2 separate regions of the Homo sapiens genome follow, and region 2 is linked to region 1. Evidence: promoter capture Hi-C in human tissues and cell types (Jung and others, 2019). All regions are on one chromosome and are shown on one strand. Each heading gives the region's core, a stretch centred on a gene start or on the middle of the fragment in contact. The rest is flanking DNA. Distances are from core to core; before and after follow the strand shown. Region 1 overlaps GBA2 (glucosylceramidase beta 2). Region 2 holds the start of UNC13B (unc-13 homolog B).

Region 1 (6,758 bases), core at 2,231-4,730:
GGCCCTTTTCATCTGGGTAGCAGAGTGATCTTTCTCACAGGCAAATCAAGATATGTCAGTCCTTGGTTAGGATGTTTCAGTGACTCCCCATGGCCCTCAGGCTAAAGTCTCAACTCTTGCCTGGCTTTCAAGGCCCTTCTTGAGCTGGCCTCTCCCTGCCCATCAGACTCATCACCTGTTCAAGCACCTATAGTCTGTTCATATAAAAACACTCACTGTTCCTTGAGCACACTACATTCTCTCCTCCATGCCTGTGCTCATGCTTGTTCGCTATCTGGTGAAACCTCTCATCCTTCAAAGCCTAGGTCAAAAGCCATCTCTTCCTCCTCTACTTCTTCCAGCAGTGAGTCATTATGTGTGCCCCCCTCCCCTTCTATTCTAGCATTTGGTGTATTATGTTATAATGTATTGACTGACCATTCTGTGTCCCTGACTGCTGTATGGATTCTTCTGAGGGTAGGGACATTTTTTAATTCACTGATGCACCCTTCTTCAGAGTTGGCATGTATGTGGAGGGAATGAGCGAAATCTGCAGCACCGTCCCTTTTTCCACAGTATACTATCCACCCCTCTCCTTTTAGCACTGATGTGGTCTCACAGTCTCCATTTCCCCTAAGTCTTATTTTCTCAAAAAAAGTTTTAGCTCTTGGAGGGTAGGAGCTATGAGGGATTAATATCCCTTTCCCTGGTTCAAACTATGTCAAATATTTTTATTGTATACAGTGGGCTCTCCATATCTGTGAGTTCCACATCAGTGGATTCAACCAACCAAATCTAAAATATGTGGAAAAAAAGTTGTGTCTGTACCGAATATGTACACACTTTATTTACTGTACGGCACAACAAGGGTTTATGTAACAATGTATGAGGTATTATAAGTAATCTACAGATGATTTAAAGTATATAGGAGGATGTGCAATGGTTATTTGCAAATACTATAAGCCATTTCAAATCAAAGACTTGAGCATCCTCGGATAGCAGGTCCTGGGCCCAACCCCCCATGGATACTGAGGGACAACTGTATAAAATAATTTTTCATTTTGTTGGAATGGTACATAATGGTTAAGACCACAAGCTCTTCACCCCAGAAAGAAATGGTTCTGAATCCCAACCTTTCCATTTACCAACCTTGTGACCTTGCGCATGTTACTAAACCTCTCTGGATCTTAGTGTCCTCATCTGCAAAATGAGCATAATAGTGGTACTTCCCTTGTAGGATTGTTTTTAATATTAAACAGTATACAAAGAGCCTAGCACAGTGTCTAGCACATGTTAAGCATGCAATAATTACTTTAATTGTAGAGTCACAATTCTGGAAGCCATTCCCCTCAGGATACCTAAGGGATGAGGCAGAGAGGGATCTTGGGACATGGGCAGGGCTGGTAAACGTGAACCAGGAAGGGTATTGTCATTAATTGGACTAAAGATTTGCTAGTCATTTTTCCTTTGAAGATGAGGCTGAATGCTGGAGCCAAGAAAGAGGAACTTCCTAGGCAACTCTAAAGGGGCGGTCAACTAGAGAGAGATGATGAGAGGCAGGACACATACTTCTGGCAATTTAAGGCCCAGATGTGATGCAGGAGCAAAAGGAAAAAAGTGAAGCTTCAGAAGAGGGAAGAAGGCTAGAGATCTAAGCCTGGGAGAGAAGGAGCTTTTTAGACCCTAAGCCAGGAGACCTCCAGGGGAGTGATCAGCAGAGGAGCTGAACTTTGGTGAAGGTTCCTCAATCAGGGTGAGGAACCTTGTACTACGTGTCTTTTTTTCCCATGAGTTTATAGACTTTGGGTTTTCTTTTCCCTTCCAGTCCTACAAAATGTTCTTTCAGGCAGGTTAAGTGATTTGGGAATTCTCTGCATTCTCTGTGGTTGGGGGCTGCCTCAGCTAGTTGGGTTGGGGCAGTGAGGTAGACAGGAGGCATTTACTAGAGAAATGCCAGATCTGTTTACTCTTTCAAGGAATGTGTGCTTGTGTGTGTCTTATTCCTACGGTATATCCTAGCTCAGGGCTGGGCACACAGGAAGCATCCCGAGAGTACTTATTAGATTGAATCTTATTCACATCTAACTGCTACCTTCTACACTAGCCAAGAGGTCCTTCCTTCTTGGCCTGGGGAGGTATTGTCCTGGCCTCTCCACCTCCTGGCTCTTACTTGGTCAGCGATGACTGTCCGGTGCTGATACATTCCAGGGTTAAGCTGCCAACGACAGAACTGGCCTCTCCAGCCACGGGTAATAGTGCCTCCCCCGATGCCACCCAAGGGACAACCTAGAGAAATCAGGGTGGTTAGTGGGGTATTGGGAGAGGAAAATAAGCCCATTTCTAACTTTCTAGACTATAAAGCCTGGTTCCTCTGAAAACCTAGGGGATGGAACAGTGCAATTTGCATAAGCTGGAAGTCTCTTCCTAACTGTGGTAGACCTGGAGGCTAGGCCTTCTCTGAGCAGAGCAGAGATGGGGTGGGGCTCACCATAAATCTGTCTTAGGGGTACAGAATTGATCATGTCGATGAAAGGTGTCTTCTTTTCCACATGGGTCTTCCGGTACCACCACTGCAGGTACCTGAGGAGCAAGAGGCAATGTGAGTGGAAGGGGGCAGGTGGGCAGCTGTTCACAGGCTGAGTCACCTGCCTCTCTCTGTGACCTCCCATTAAATGTCCCAAGGACATCTGCTTTCAAACCTTTCTTCCTCTTGATTTCTATACAGTTCAAGGTCCCTTCATCTTCCCAGTCACCCCAGCTGAAGTGAAGGAGTGGCTTTGTTTCTCTCCTTTGTTCTCCTCAGAAGGGGCTTTCTGATCTCTCCTTACCTCTCTAGCACCACCACCACTGCTTTATTTCCAACATCAGGAGCTTCTGTCTGACGTGCTGAAAGGACCATTTATGGTTTCCTGGCCTACAGCCTCCGCCCCCAATCCCCTACCTCCAAAACAGGCATAGGCTGCTGGGAATAACTTTCTTATCTTTATTTTTATTATTTATTATTTTTTTTTTGAGACAGAGTTTCGTTCCTTGTTGTCCAGGCTGGAGTGCAGTGGCTCGGTCTTGGCTCACTGCAAACTCCGCCTCCCAAGTTCAAGAAATTCTTCTGCCTCAGCCTCCCAAGTAGCTGGGATTACAGGTGCCCGCCACCATGCCTGGCACATTTTTTTGTGTTTTTAGTAGAGATGGGGTTTCACCATGTTAGCCAGGCTGGTCTTGAACTCCTGACCTCAGGTGATCCGCCCGCCTCGGCCTCCCAAAGTGCTGGGATTAGAGGCGTGAGCTACCGCTTCTGGCCTTTCTTCTTTTTAAAATGATCATTTTTCTTTCTAATTATGAAAGGTGAAAGGGGGAAAAAAATAATCTCACCCATAGACAATCAGTGTTTATATTTATTTCTGGACATTTCCTCTCAAGCCTTTTTTTTTTTTTTTTTTAAATTCAACATTTAAACTGTGAAGCTTTCTGATTTTGCTCTTGGTAAAGCCTTCAAAAAATCCCAACATTTTCCTGGGCTTGGTACAGCCCTATATCCAAGAGGCAAATGATTGAGGCTGTTTTCAATAGGCAAACGATTCTGTTTTCAAGGCTCTGACATCTGTCCCAGCCTATCTTCTAATCTTATTTCCTACAAATTCTCATTCCAGATGGGTCCTCACTAAGTAGCCCCTGCCCTGCCAGACTCTTTCCCATTTCCACTCTCCTGCCTACTGCCACATTATGCCTACTGTTCAGTCACACCACTTCTAACCAAATAATTGGGTAAGTAACCCCTAAGTCCCAGTTTCCTCATCTACAAAATGGGGATACCACCTGCTCTAGCTATCTAATGAAATGGTTGAAAGATCAAATGACATAATAGATAAGAAAGCCATAAAGTACAGGTATGATTATTACTCATATATACAAACTGTTATCTCAATTCCTAATCAGACATTGCCTTGTTATTTCAATGTTCCTCATGTGAGGCTGACATACTTTTAAGTTCCTTGGGGAAAGGGACAATGACAAAGACTAGCTGAATATTACCCTCAGGTCCAAGCACAGGGTAGGACATATGGTCTGCAGTCAATGCATATTTGCCAATTTTACAGATGAATGAACATACAAATGATGGGGCACAAGAGAGATAACAGACTGGAGCAGAGGAGAAGAAATGTGATTAATGAATAGGGACAGCGGCCAGGCACGGTGGCTCACACCTGTAATCCCAGCACTTTGAGAGGCCGAGGTGGGCGGATCACGTGAGGTCAGGAGTTCAAGACCAGCCTGGCCAATGTGGTGAAACCCCGTCTCTACTAAAAATACAAAAACATTAGCCAGCTGTGGTGGCAGGCACCTGCAATCCCAGCTACTCAGGAGGCTGAGGCAGGAGAATCGCTTGAACCCAGGAGACGGAGGTTGCACTGAGCTGAGATTGCACCATTGTACTCCAGCCTGGGTGACAAGAGCAAGACTGTCTCAAAAAAAAAATAATAATAAAATAAAAAGGGACAGCACATTCTAGGGGTGGAAAGAAGAGGGAAGACAAAGGATGGGATGACAGGAAGGCAGAGAATCCTCTCTGCCAGCTTAGAGAAAACCGGACTTTGAAACTAGAGACCAGAAAGGACTGGTAGAGGGAGGGTGTGGCCGAGGATTAGGGCAACCAGGGAGAGTAACTGCAATCTATGAGGACAGACAGAACAAAGGACTATCTGGCATGGAACAAGCACTCAATAAATATTTATTGAATGAGTGGACTCTGGCTGGAAGGGAGAACAATTGAAATTGAGTTCTTACGAAGGTAAGACCCAGAGAATTCTGTCTTGCTAGAGCTCCTGGTCAGAGTGCCCACAGTTCAGCTCCATCTTAGGAGCTCTCTTACTCCCTTAATATGGTAGCTGGCCATTCCTGACCTATTTGGCCTTCTCCACAATTTCAACCTCAACTCAAGAGTTATCACTTAGAATTCTTGTCTCACCTGTGCTTTCTCCTCATAGGAACTCATCCTATTCCAAAAGCCTTGTATCAGTACCCCCCACTCTATCCTGGAATGGGGAGCCAGGGTCCAGGGGGTTGAGCACAGCTTCAGGCCTCTATGACTCAGTTCATATTTAAGGGCTAAGAGGCTAGGATGCCCATCTTTTCTTGATCTCATTGTTCCTACCACATGCAACTCAGTGTACTTCTCTATGTACACTAGATCCTATTTTGATGCAAAAACTTTTGGGGTCAAACTTGGACTGAATTGATTCCAGAAGCAGCCTGGAGGGATGATTCTTCTCTGCTACAGGCTACCCACAGGCACCAACAAAGCCAGATGTGCAGGCAGCATCAGGCCCTTCCCACTCCCCAGGGCTAGGGTTAGATAACTGATCTCCCCATCACAGCCCCACAGCACTGACTGGGGAAATGAAGGGTCTCCTACTCTAGAAACTGTAAGGGCAGGGTTTCCCAAGCTTTATGCCTCCCTCCACAGTTCTGTGTGTATTGTGTAGACTGAGTCAGGATGACCTCAGGGTGATGCTTTCTGTCCTCACATCCACCTGTTCCTGTTAATGGGTCTGGCTCCTCATCACTAGTCTTTGAACTCAGTGGGGATCTAGATGGGTTCTACATCTATGGCAGTGCCTCTCTGATAAATGACTTAATATCAAGAGCTCTCTATCCCAGAACAGAATGACAGCACCTTCTCATCACTTCAGAGGTGAGGGCAGGGAGGCTCTTCTTACCTACTCCCTGGAGCTAAAGCTTGAAGAAAGAAGCAGTAGTGTTGGGACTCTAACAGTGTGTCTAATGAGGTACAGAGAATGCCCCAGCTGCTTGTGGGAAATAAGGGGTTGAGACCCCCCCACCCCCAAATAAAACAACATTGTGTTAGTATCACAGCAGCCAGATTATCCTTTCCTACCTTGCCACAAAGTATAGCTAATCCCAAAGGGAAGTCATTGGAAACCAGTATGTGAGAAGAGCCTGAATGGGAAAGGCTGATTGCATGACCAAATGTTCCTACCCTTTCCTTCTGAAAAGACAAAACACTGGGAGGGAAGGGTGTTGCAAAGAGATGTGACCTGGTCTCACGGTCCAAAACCACAGGCCTAAAATATGCCAGGGATAGGGACCGCTTCACTCAGACAAGAAGCCCAACTGCTTTCTTGCCCTTTCCCACCTCTGCTAGAAGTTTTGAGCTGGAACAAAGTGAAGCCAAAGGCATTCTAGGCAATGGGGTCTACTCACCTCAAGCCCATGCCTATATGCTTTATCATGTTGCTTAGGGAGACGTTGTTAGCTTGAAAGGGTTTCCTCTTCTCTGTAAACTCATGAGCCAGACAGATGCGCCAGCCAAAGGGAGGCACCTGGTAGCCCATAGCTTTACCCTCATAGGAAACCATCAGCTGCCCAGAGTCCTCCGGATTGCAGCAGTCCGTCTCTTTTGGGGGTCGGCTGTCTTCGGGACTCTTACAGTCTGTAACCTGCACATCCTTGGTGCCGCCAGTCTCTTCAGGGCAATAAACTTGTGGATCCTCTTTGGCACAGCTTATCTGCTCCGAGGCTGGGACGCCGGTTCCCATGTTCCCTGGATCCTGGGTCCCCATGACCTCGATGGCGCCAAGTCCCGAGCCCTCGGATACTAAGTATCTCGCCAGCCTATTCCAGATGCGGGCGCCGGTCGTTGTTAGGTATCGTCCCGGAGGGCCGGGCGTTGGGGAAAGCTTAAATGAGCTGGTGTTTCAGTGGAGCCGGGGAGCTCTTGCTTCAGTGGGGGCGGCGACAGCAAAGAAGCCGCCTTGGGCTCT
Region 2 (6,758 bases), core at 1,988-4,487, 580 kb before region 1:
GGCTCACAACACTGGGTGATCAGCCCTTCAATGTGTTTCCTGGATGAGCCAGTTTTTAAATTAAATATATATATATATATTTTTTTGAGACAAGGTCTTACTCTGTTGCCCCGGCTGGAGTGCAGTGGCATAATCTTGGTTCACTGCAACCTCCACTTTCTGGGTTCGGGCAATTCTTACGTCTCAGTCTCCTAAGCAACTGGGGTTACAGGCACGCACCACTACACCTGGCTAATTTTTGTATTATTAGTAGAGATGCGGTTTTGCTATGTTTGTCAGGCTTGGTCTTGAACTCATGACCTCAAGTGATCTGCCTGCCTCGGCCTCCTGAAATGCTAGGATTATGTGTGTGTGACCGCACCTGGCCTAAATTAATTTTTGTTGGGGATTTCCCTGCAGGACCACTGCACATCGTTCGGGGTCAACCTTTCAGACACTCCCACAAGGTCCCCAGTCACTCAGGGGCACCTTTCAGTTGGGAGGGGCAAATGCCCTTTCTTTTTGGAGCTGAGAAAACTCAGTCTCTGATATACCTATGAAAGCAACAGTTCAGTTCCTCATGCAAATGCACACAGACAAACGGAATTGAGATTAATGTTGGGAGAAAAAGCAATATAAAGGATCCTTCAGAACGGATCTCCAAACTAGAATTAGGATTTTTTTTTTTTTTTGAGATGGAGTCTCGCTCTGTCGCCCAGGCTGAGTGCAGTGGCACGATCTCGGCACAGTGCAACTTCCACCTCCCTGGTTCAAGCAATTGCCCTACCTCAGCCTTCGAATAGCTGGGATTACAGGTGCACACCACCAGGCCCGGCTAATCTTGAACTTGTGGGGTCAAGTGGTCCGCCCGCCTCAGCCTCCCAAAGTGCTGGGATTACAGGTGTGAACCACCGCACCTGGCCTAGAATTAGGATTCTTAAACAACGACTTCCTAGGAGAGAAAATTAAAAAAAAAAAAAAAAAAAAAAAAGGAAACAGCCAAAACCACTTCCTATAAACTGTGCTCAGCCACCCGTAACTTTGTAGCTCTTTTCCAACAATATACACACCAAGGTCAAATCCTCTCACAGTGCAAGGTCATCTCTGGCACCCAAAGCCAAAAAGGTCAGGTCATGCAATACAGGAAAACAGAGCTTTAGACCTAAGAAGAATCTGCCCATGACTCTTGAAATCCCACAAAGCCAAGAGAACACCCCAAAAGGGGGTGAGTGGCACCTTTGTTCTAAATTCTTTTTTTTTTTTTGAGATAGAGTCTTGCCCTGTCACCCAGGCTGGAGTGCAATGGCACGATCTCAGCTCACTGCAACCTCCGCCTCCCAGGTTCAAGTGATTCTCCTGCCTCTGCCTCCTGAGTAGCTGGGATTACAGGCACGTGCCACCATGCCTGGCTAACTTTTTTTGTATCTTTAGTCGAGACAGGGTTTCATCATGTTGGCGAGGCTGAGTCTCGAACTCCTGACCTCGTGATCCGCCCACCTCGGCCTCCCAAAGTGCTGGGATTACAGGCGTGAACCATGGCGCCCGGCCTAAATTCTTTAAAGAGGTTCAAGTCATTAGAAGCCTTCTCTCGATTTTTTGGTAATGCAGATGGCAAAGGGTGAAGGAGGTATAGGGTGGAAGAAAAGTAAACAAAAGAACAATTGAATTTTTTTTTTTTTTTTTTTTAATTTGAGACAGAGTCTCACACTGTAGCTCAGGCTGGAGTGCAATGGCTCGATCTCCACTCACTGCAACCTGCGCCTCCTGGTTCAAGCAATTCTCCTGCCTCAGCCTCCCGAGTAGCTGGGATTACAGGCACCCGCCACCATGCCCGGCTAATTTTTTTTGTATTTTCAGTAGAGACAGGGTTTCACTATGTTGGCCAGGCTGGCCTTGAACTCCTGACCTCGTGATCCGCCCGCCTCGGCCTCCCAAAGTGCTAGGATTACAGGTGTGAGCCACCGCGCCCGGCCTAAGAACAGTTTAATTTTTAAGACCAGGAAGCAAACACAGAAACCAAATACATGGTTTTTTGTTTTCTGTTTGTTTTTTCTTTTGCAGCTGTGAGGAATTTTACTCAAATTAGATAGGCCTTGTTACCCATAATTTGGAATTCTCACTTGGATTTGACCAAGTGAAGTAGAGTTGGTCAATGGGAAAAAGACAAACAAAATAAAAAAAAACCCAACAATATGATCACTGAGCACTCTAATGGTAAGCAGAAATTAAGACCAGCTGGTTGTTAACTTTAGCCAAGACAAAAATCCCTATTCAGCTACTTACCTAGGGGTGCGTCTCAGGCTGAAAACGGCTGTCTACCATCCCAGAAGTAGGAAAAAAACCCCTCATCTTCCCTGTTGGAAGTGAGCTCAAACTCCATAAAAGAGTTACCTGCCTTCCCTCGTCATGGAAGCAGGAAAACTTGCCTTCCTTGTTGGAAGCAAGTAAAACTCCAAAATAATAATAATAATAATAATAATAATAATAATAATAGAGGGAGTTGTACAACAAAATGAACTTTAGATCTCGACCAAATTTTGGGAGATCAGGGATTCTCTGGAGGGGGTGCTCCTAGACCTTAGCAAATTGTCCTGTTGGTTTGAGCCATGGAGTTAGCTCATGTTGGTACCAAGCATGGATAGGAGATTTGTCAAAGATCAGAGGTATCTCCACTCACAATCCCTCCGTGGTTACCATCCTTCATTCAGTAAATATTTACGGACTGATTACCATACACTAGGCACTATTCCAGACATTGGAGATACAATGATGAGCATAAAAAACGGTCTAGATAAGAACTGAGGTCTCCAGACATACTTTATGCCCACTCAGTTTTGTCTTTTGCCCTAGTTGCTAAACAAAACTTAACTTTGCTGTGCGGTGCGACTTCGTTAACTTAAAATTACAGGCTGTCAGCTATGACCGCTAGACTCTAAGAAAGTCCAGTGGAAATCCTTCAATGAAAAGAATCTGTTCTTGGGTGGAAGCCCCGCTCATGCAGGAGGAACAGAGGGCTTCCATTCTCGCGTCACACAACTGAGGGTCAACCCCTTGCTCCCTGCAGTAAGCCTGATTAGTGGGCGGAGCTTCCTTCAGGATCGCAAGAAAGAAAGGAGGAAGGGGACCCCGCCTCCTACGTGCTCGCGGGGGGGGGCGGGGTCGGTGGACTGGGCGTGAGTTAATTGGCTGGGGGGCGGGGCACCACGGGTTGGCTCCGCCCAGGCGCTCGCGCGGATCCCGGGTGGAATGACGGGAGGGAGTCCCGGCAGCTCCTACCTCCCAGCGATGGCGTCGCTGTGCCGCGCCCAGTCCCCAGCCTGCCGGCCGGTACTCACCGCTACCCGGAGTTCGCTCAGACGGTGAGATTTGGGGCGGGTCCGAGGCAGCGGCGGGACGCTACCTGCGACCGGGACCATGAGGAGCTGCCAGACCCGTGGGGCCGGTAACGAGAGCAGTCGCGGCACCTGCTGAGAGGAAAGAGGGAGCGGTCCGGCGCGGCTGGGGCGCGGCAGAGGCTTGCCCGATCCTCGGCCATGTCACTGCTCTGCGTGCGCGGTGAGTGCGCGGACTGAGGCGGGGAGGCGGGGTGTCGGCGTAGAGGTCCCCGCACCCTTCCAGTGGACGTCCGGTGACCGTCTCACCCAAACTTTACATCCCGTCCGTGCTTTGGGGGTCTATTATTTTGGCAATCACTTAACAATCACTTGAGTTCTTTCCACTTTCTTGTTTTCCCCCAAGCTCCTGCAAGGGACGATTAGCTCTCCATTCTGGTAGCCATGTGACAATGTTGTTGGACTGCAGGCTCAGATCCTATTAAACAGTGACTGGGGTTCTCTAGTGAGAGTGGACGAGTTAGAAGACCGCGGATGGTTGGTGCCTGTGAATGGTGGGCAGCCTCTCATTCTTTTCCTCCTCCTCGCACCGTAACGCTACAGTATGCTTAGTAGCAGGTTCTTTTTATCACACTTTGAATGCGTTAGTGGTACAGCTGTCACATCCCTTCTATTGCTTGTCTTGTCCCCTGCCACTTCCCTGAACACTAACCGGTAGTATAGGCTAAGATTATTCTTCTGTTCCACTTGGGAGGATGTGGTGACTGCTTTTGAGGATAAGAGGTATGATTTATTTTTATTTTTATTTTAGCTTGCCTCACAGTAACTCAAGGTGAAGGGCCATTATTGCTTTTCCCCTGAGGACACTTGACCCATCTAAGAAGATATCTTAAAGCAAGAGCTTTGGGGTTTAAGATGAGGCATGGTACGCGAACTAAGTTCTATGTGGGTAGAGACTGTTTCTTATTAGTTTTTGTATTCCTGGTGTCTGACGTAGTAGAAGCTTAATGCTGGTTTTGAATGAATGCAAGTACTGTGACTTCAGAGAGATTATCTGATCAGGAAAACACAGGGTTTGGATTAGCCATTGAATTTGATCTCGGGAAATTCAGGTTACAGCCTATCATATCTGATGTGTCTTGATTATGAATGAGAGAGCATTTATCAACTAGAGCCTTTACCTGATATCTTTTACTGGAGAGTTCATATTTCTTTTGGCTCTACAGATTAGAAGCATTGTTGTTGTTTGTGATTTCTCCAATAACGATGTTTCCCCCAGCTACTGGCAGATGAAACTGCTTTGCTCTGTTCTCTTCCACTATTTTGTTGAATCTGCATTAACCAAAATGGATTTGGCCATTTCCCGGGATTATGAGATATACAGTTTTTCTTCTTTCATGGTTGATTTTTCATTAATGAGAATTTTGCTTTGCTTTTAGTAAGACATTTTCTCTCAGCAGCTGGGAATCTATTTATTCCTTTAGATCCCTGCTGCTGAGTAGCAGGATTTGGGAGAGGTTGGACTTTGCTGTGTCTCTTGGACAGTTTAATTCTCTACGGCCACACTGTATTACAGAGCTGGTCCTTATGAAAGACTCTTTAGGCAGGAGCACTCGTGAATCAGAAATTCCTATTTAACTGAATTTATATAACTACTGGTGTTTTCATTTGTTTTAATAGCAGGCAGGTTTCATTGTCTAGAAATTCTGCTATTTAGCTAACTTCTTTCCTTTTTAATGTTACTTTAGTGAAGTTTCTTCTTTTTTGAATCTGGAGAAACGAGATCAGCAGGCCATTGTCTTTTTGAATAGAGATCTAGAAGATTTTAAATACTGAAACAAACAGGTACCTTATATGCAGATATTCATATTGAATGGCAAAGTATTCATTTTGGGAAAACTTACAGAAATGAATTGAAATACATCTTTATTTTTATTTCTTTTTCTTTTTTTGAGACAGAGTCTCATTCTGTCACCCAGGCTGGAGTGCAGTGCTGCGATCTTGGCTCACTGCAACCTCCACCTCCTGGGTTCAAGTGATTCTCATGCCTCAGCCTCCCGAGCAGCTGGAATTACAGGAGTGAACCACCAGGCCCGGCTAATTTTTGTATTTTTTGTAGAGACAGAGTTTCACTGTGTTGGCTAGGCTGGTCTTGAACTTCTGACCTCAAGTGATCCATCTGCCTTGGCCTTCCAAAGTGCTGGGATTAGAGGCATAATCCACTGCACCCAGCACAAAATACATCTTTCTAAAATGACATTCCTTGCGTTGTATTTTGGCAGTAGGAATGTTGTATTCTGAAAGCAGTCTATATAGTGATATTTATTACAACTCAATTTCAATTCATCTTGGAGTAGAATCAATTAGAAACTTCCTATGCAGAGTTCAAAAAGTAGTTAACTTGATGTAGAAATTGGCAAACTGGTATTGAATTAATCATTCCTAAACATTTCATTCAAGAAGTCAGTTATTTTGTCTTGCCCTTTAATCATGCCTTATTGCCTGCAGGTTTAAGGCTCTCAATACTCTGACTCCAGACTTGTGGCCTTCTATTCTTGCCTATCCTTATGCAGACTTTGCTCTAGCACTAACTTTGTTTATTCCTGCCTCTGCTCTGTTCTGCACTTGTGCCCCCTGAAATACTCGTTCCATATTTTCTGCCTATCTAAAATGTATTCTTACTTTCCCAGCTAACAGTCTACTTTTTTTGTTGTTGAAAACTTCTTCAGGTCCCCAGTCCACAGTGATCTCTTTTTCCTTTAAATCCTCGGAGCACTTGTGGTCTGAACAGTGCCACTAGTTTGGAAATGAATCATATGCTGCCTGCAACTGGTCTTGTATTGTGGTGCTTATGGTGACCCAGACAAAGGAAGTAATTGCACTGGTCAGATCAGATCTGGAATTTTGTGTTCAGCTGTGGTATTTCCTTCTAAGAAGCATATTGAGAAGCTAGGTTATCTTAAGAGGGGAGTGATTAGAATAATGAAACATGTAGGAACCGAACCATTTGAAGAATATGGGAAATTTAGTTGTAGAAGATTTAAGAGGAAGAGGATCACGATAGTACATGAAGACTGTTTAAAAAACTGTCTTGTAGAAGTTATGTCACCTTTTTTGTTGTCATTCCAGAGGACAGAACTGGGACAAGTGTGGATCAGTGGTTGAAAATGACAGGAAATTAGATTTTAGCTTAACATAAAGAAGAACAGTTGGGTTGTTCAGAACAAATGGAATGGGCTATGTAGATTTTTTGACACTAAACAGAAATTGAATGAGTGGTAAGGATTCTAAAGGGGATATTGACCATTCAGCGGGTGATTGACTTGAATTTTTTTTTTTTTTTTTTTTTAATTTTTTGAGATGGAGTCTCTGTTGCCCAGGCTGGAGTGCAGTGGCATGATCTCAGCTCACTGCAACTTCTGCCTCCCAGGTTCAAGCGATTCTCCT

Evidence for each region. Contacts are between HindIII fragments. The study calls those that stand out against the background at their distance.
Region 2: a contact is called between the fragment with the promoter of UNC13B here and a fragment that was not itself captured in region 1, in 1 of the 25 tissues and cell types used here (heart right ventricle).

Annotation. Positions count from the first base shown.
Region 1 is chr9:35,742,148-35,748,905 of GRCh38, forward strand. It overlaps GBA2 (glucosylceramidase beta 2), which reads right to left. Exons shown (of 17, transcript NM_020944.3): 1 at 6,199-6,758; 2 at 2,468-2,559; 3 at 2,150-2,265. The coding sequence starts at 6,557. Among named protein-coding and RNA genes, the nearest start is that of GBA2, 3.7 kb to the right of the region's middle. The HindIII fragment of the contact is 5,426 bases long and covers 768-6,193 here.
Region 2 is chr9:35,158,772-35,165,529 of GRCh38, forward strand. It overlaps UNC13B (unc-13 homolog B), which reads left to right and starts at 3,238. Exons shown (of 40, transcript NM_001371189.2): 1 at 3,238-3,534. The coding sequence starts at 3,513. RefSeq lists a silencer at 3,104-3,233. The HindIII fragment of the contact is 10,387 bases long and covers 1-6,244 here.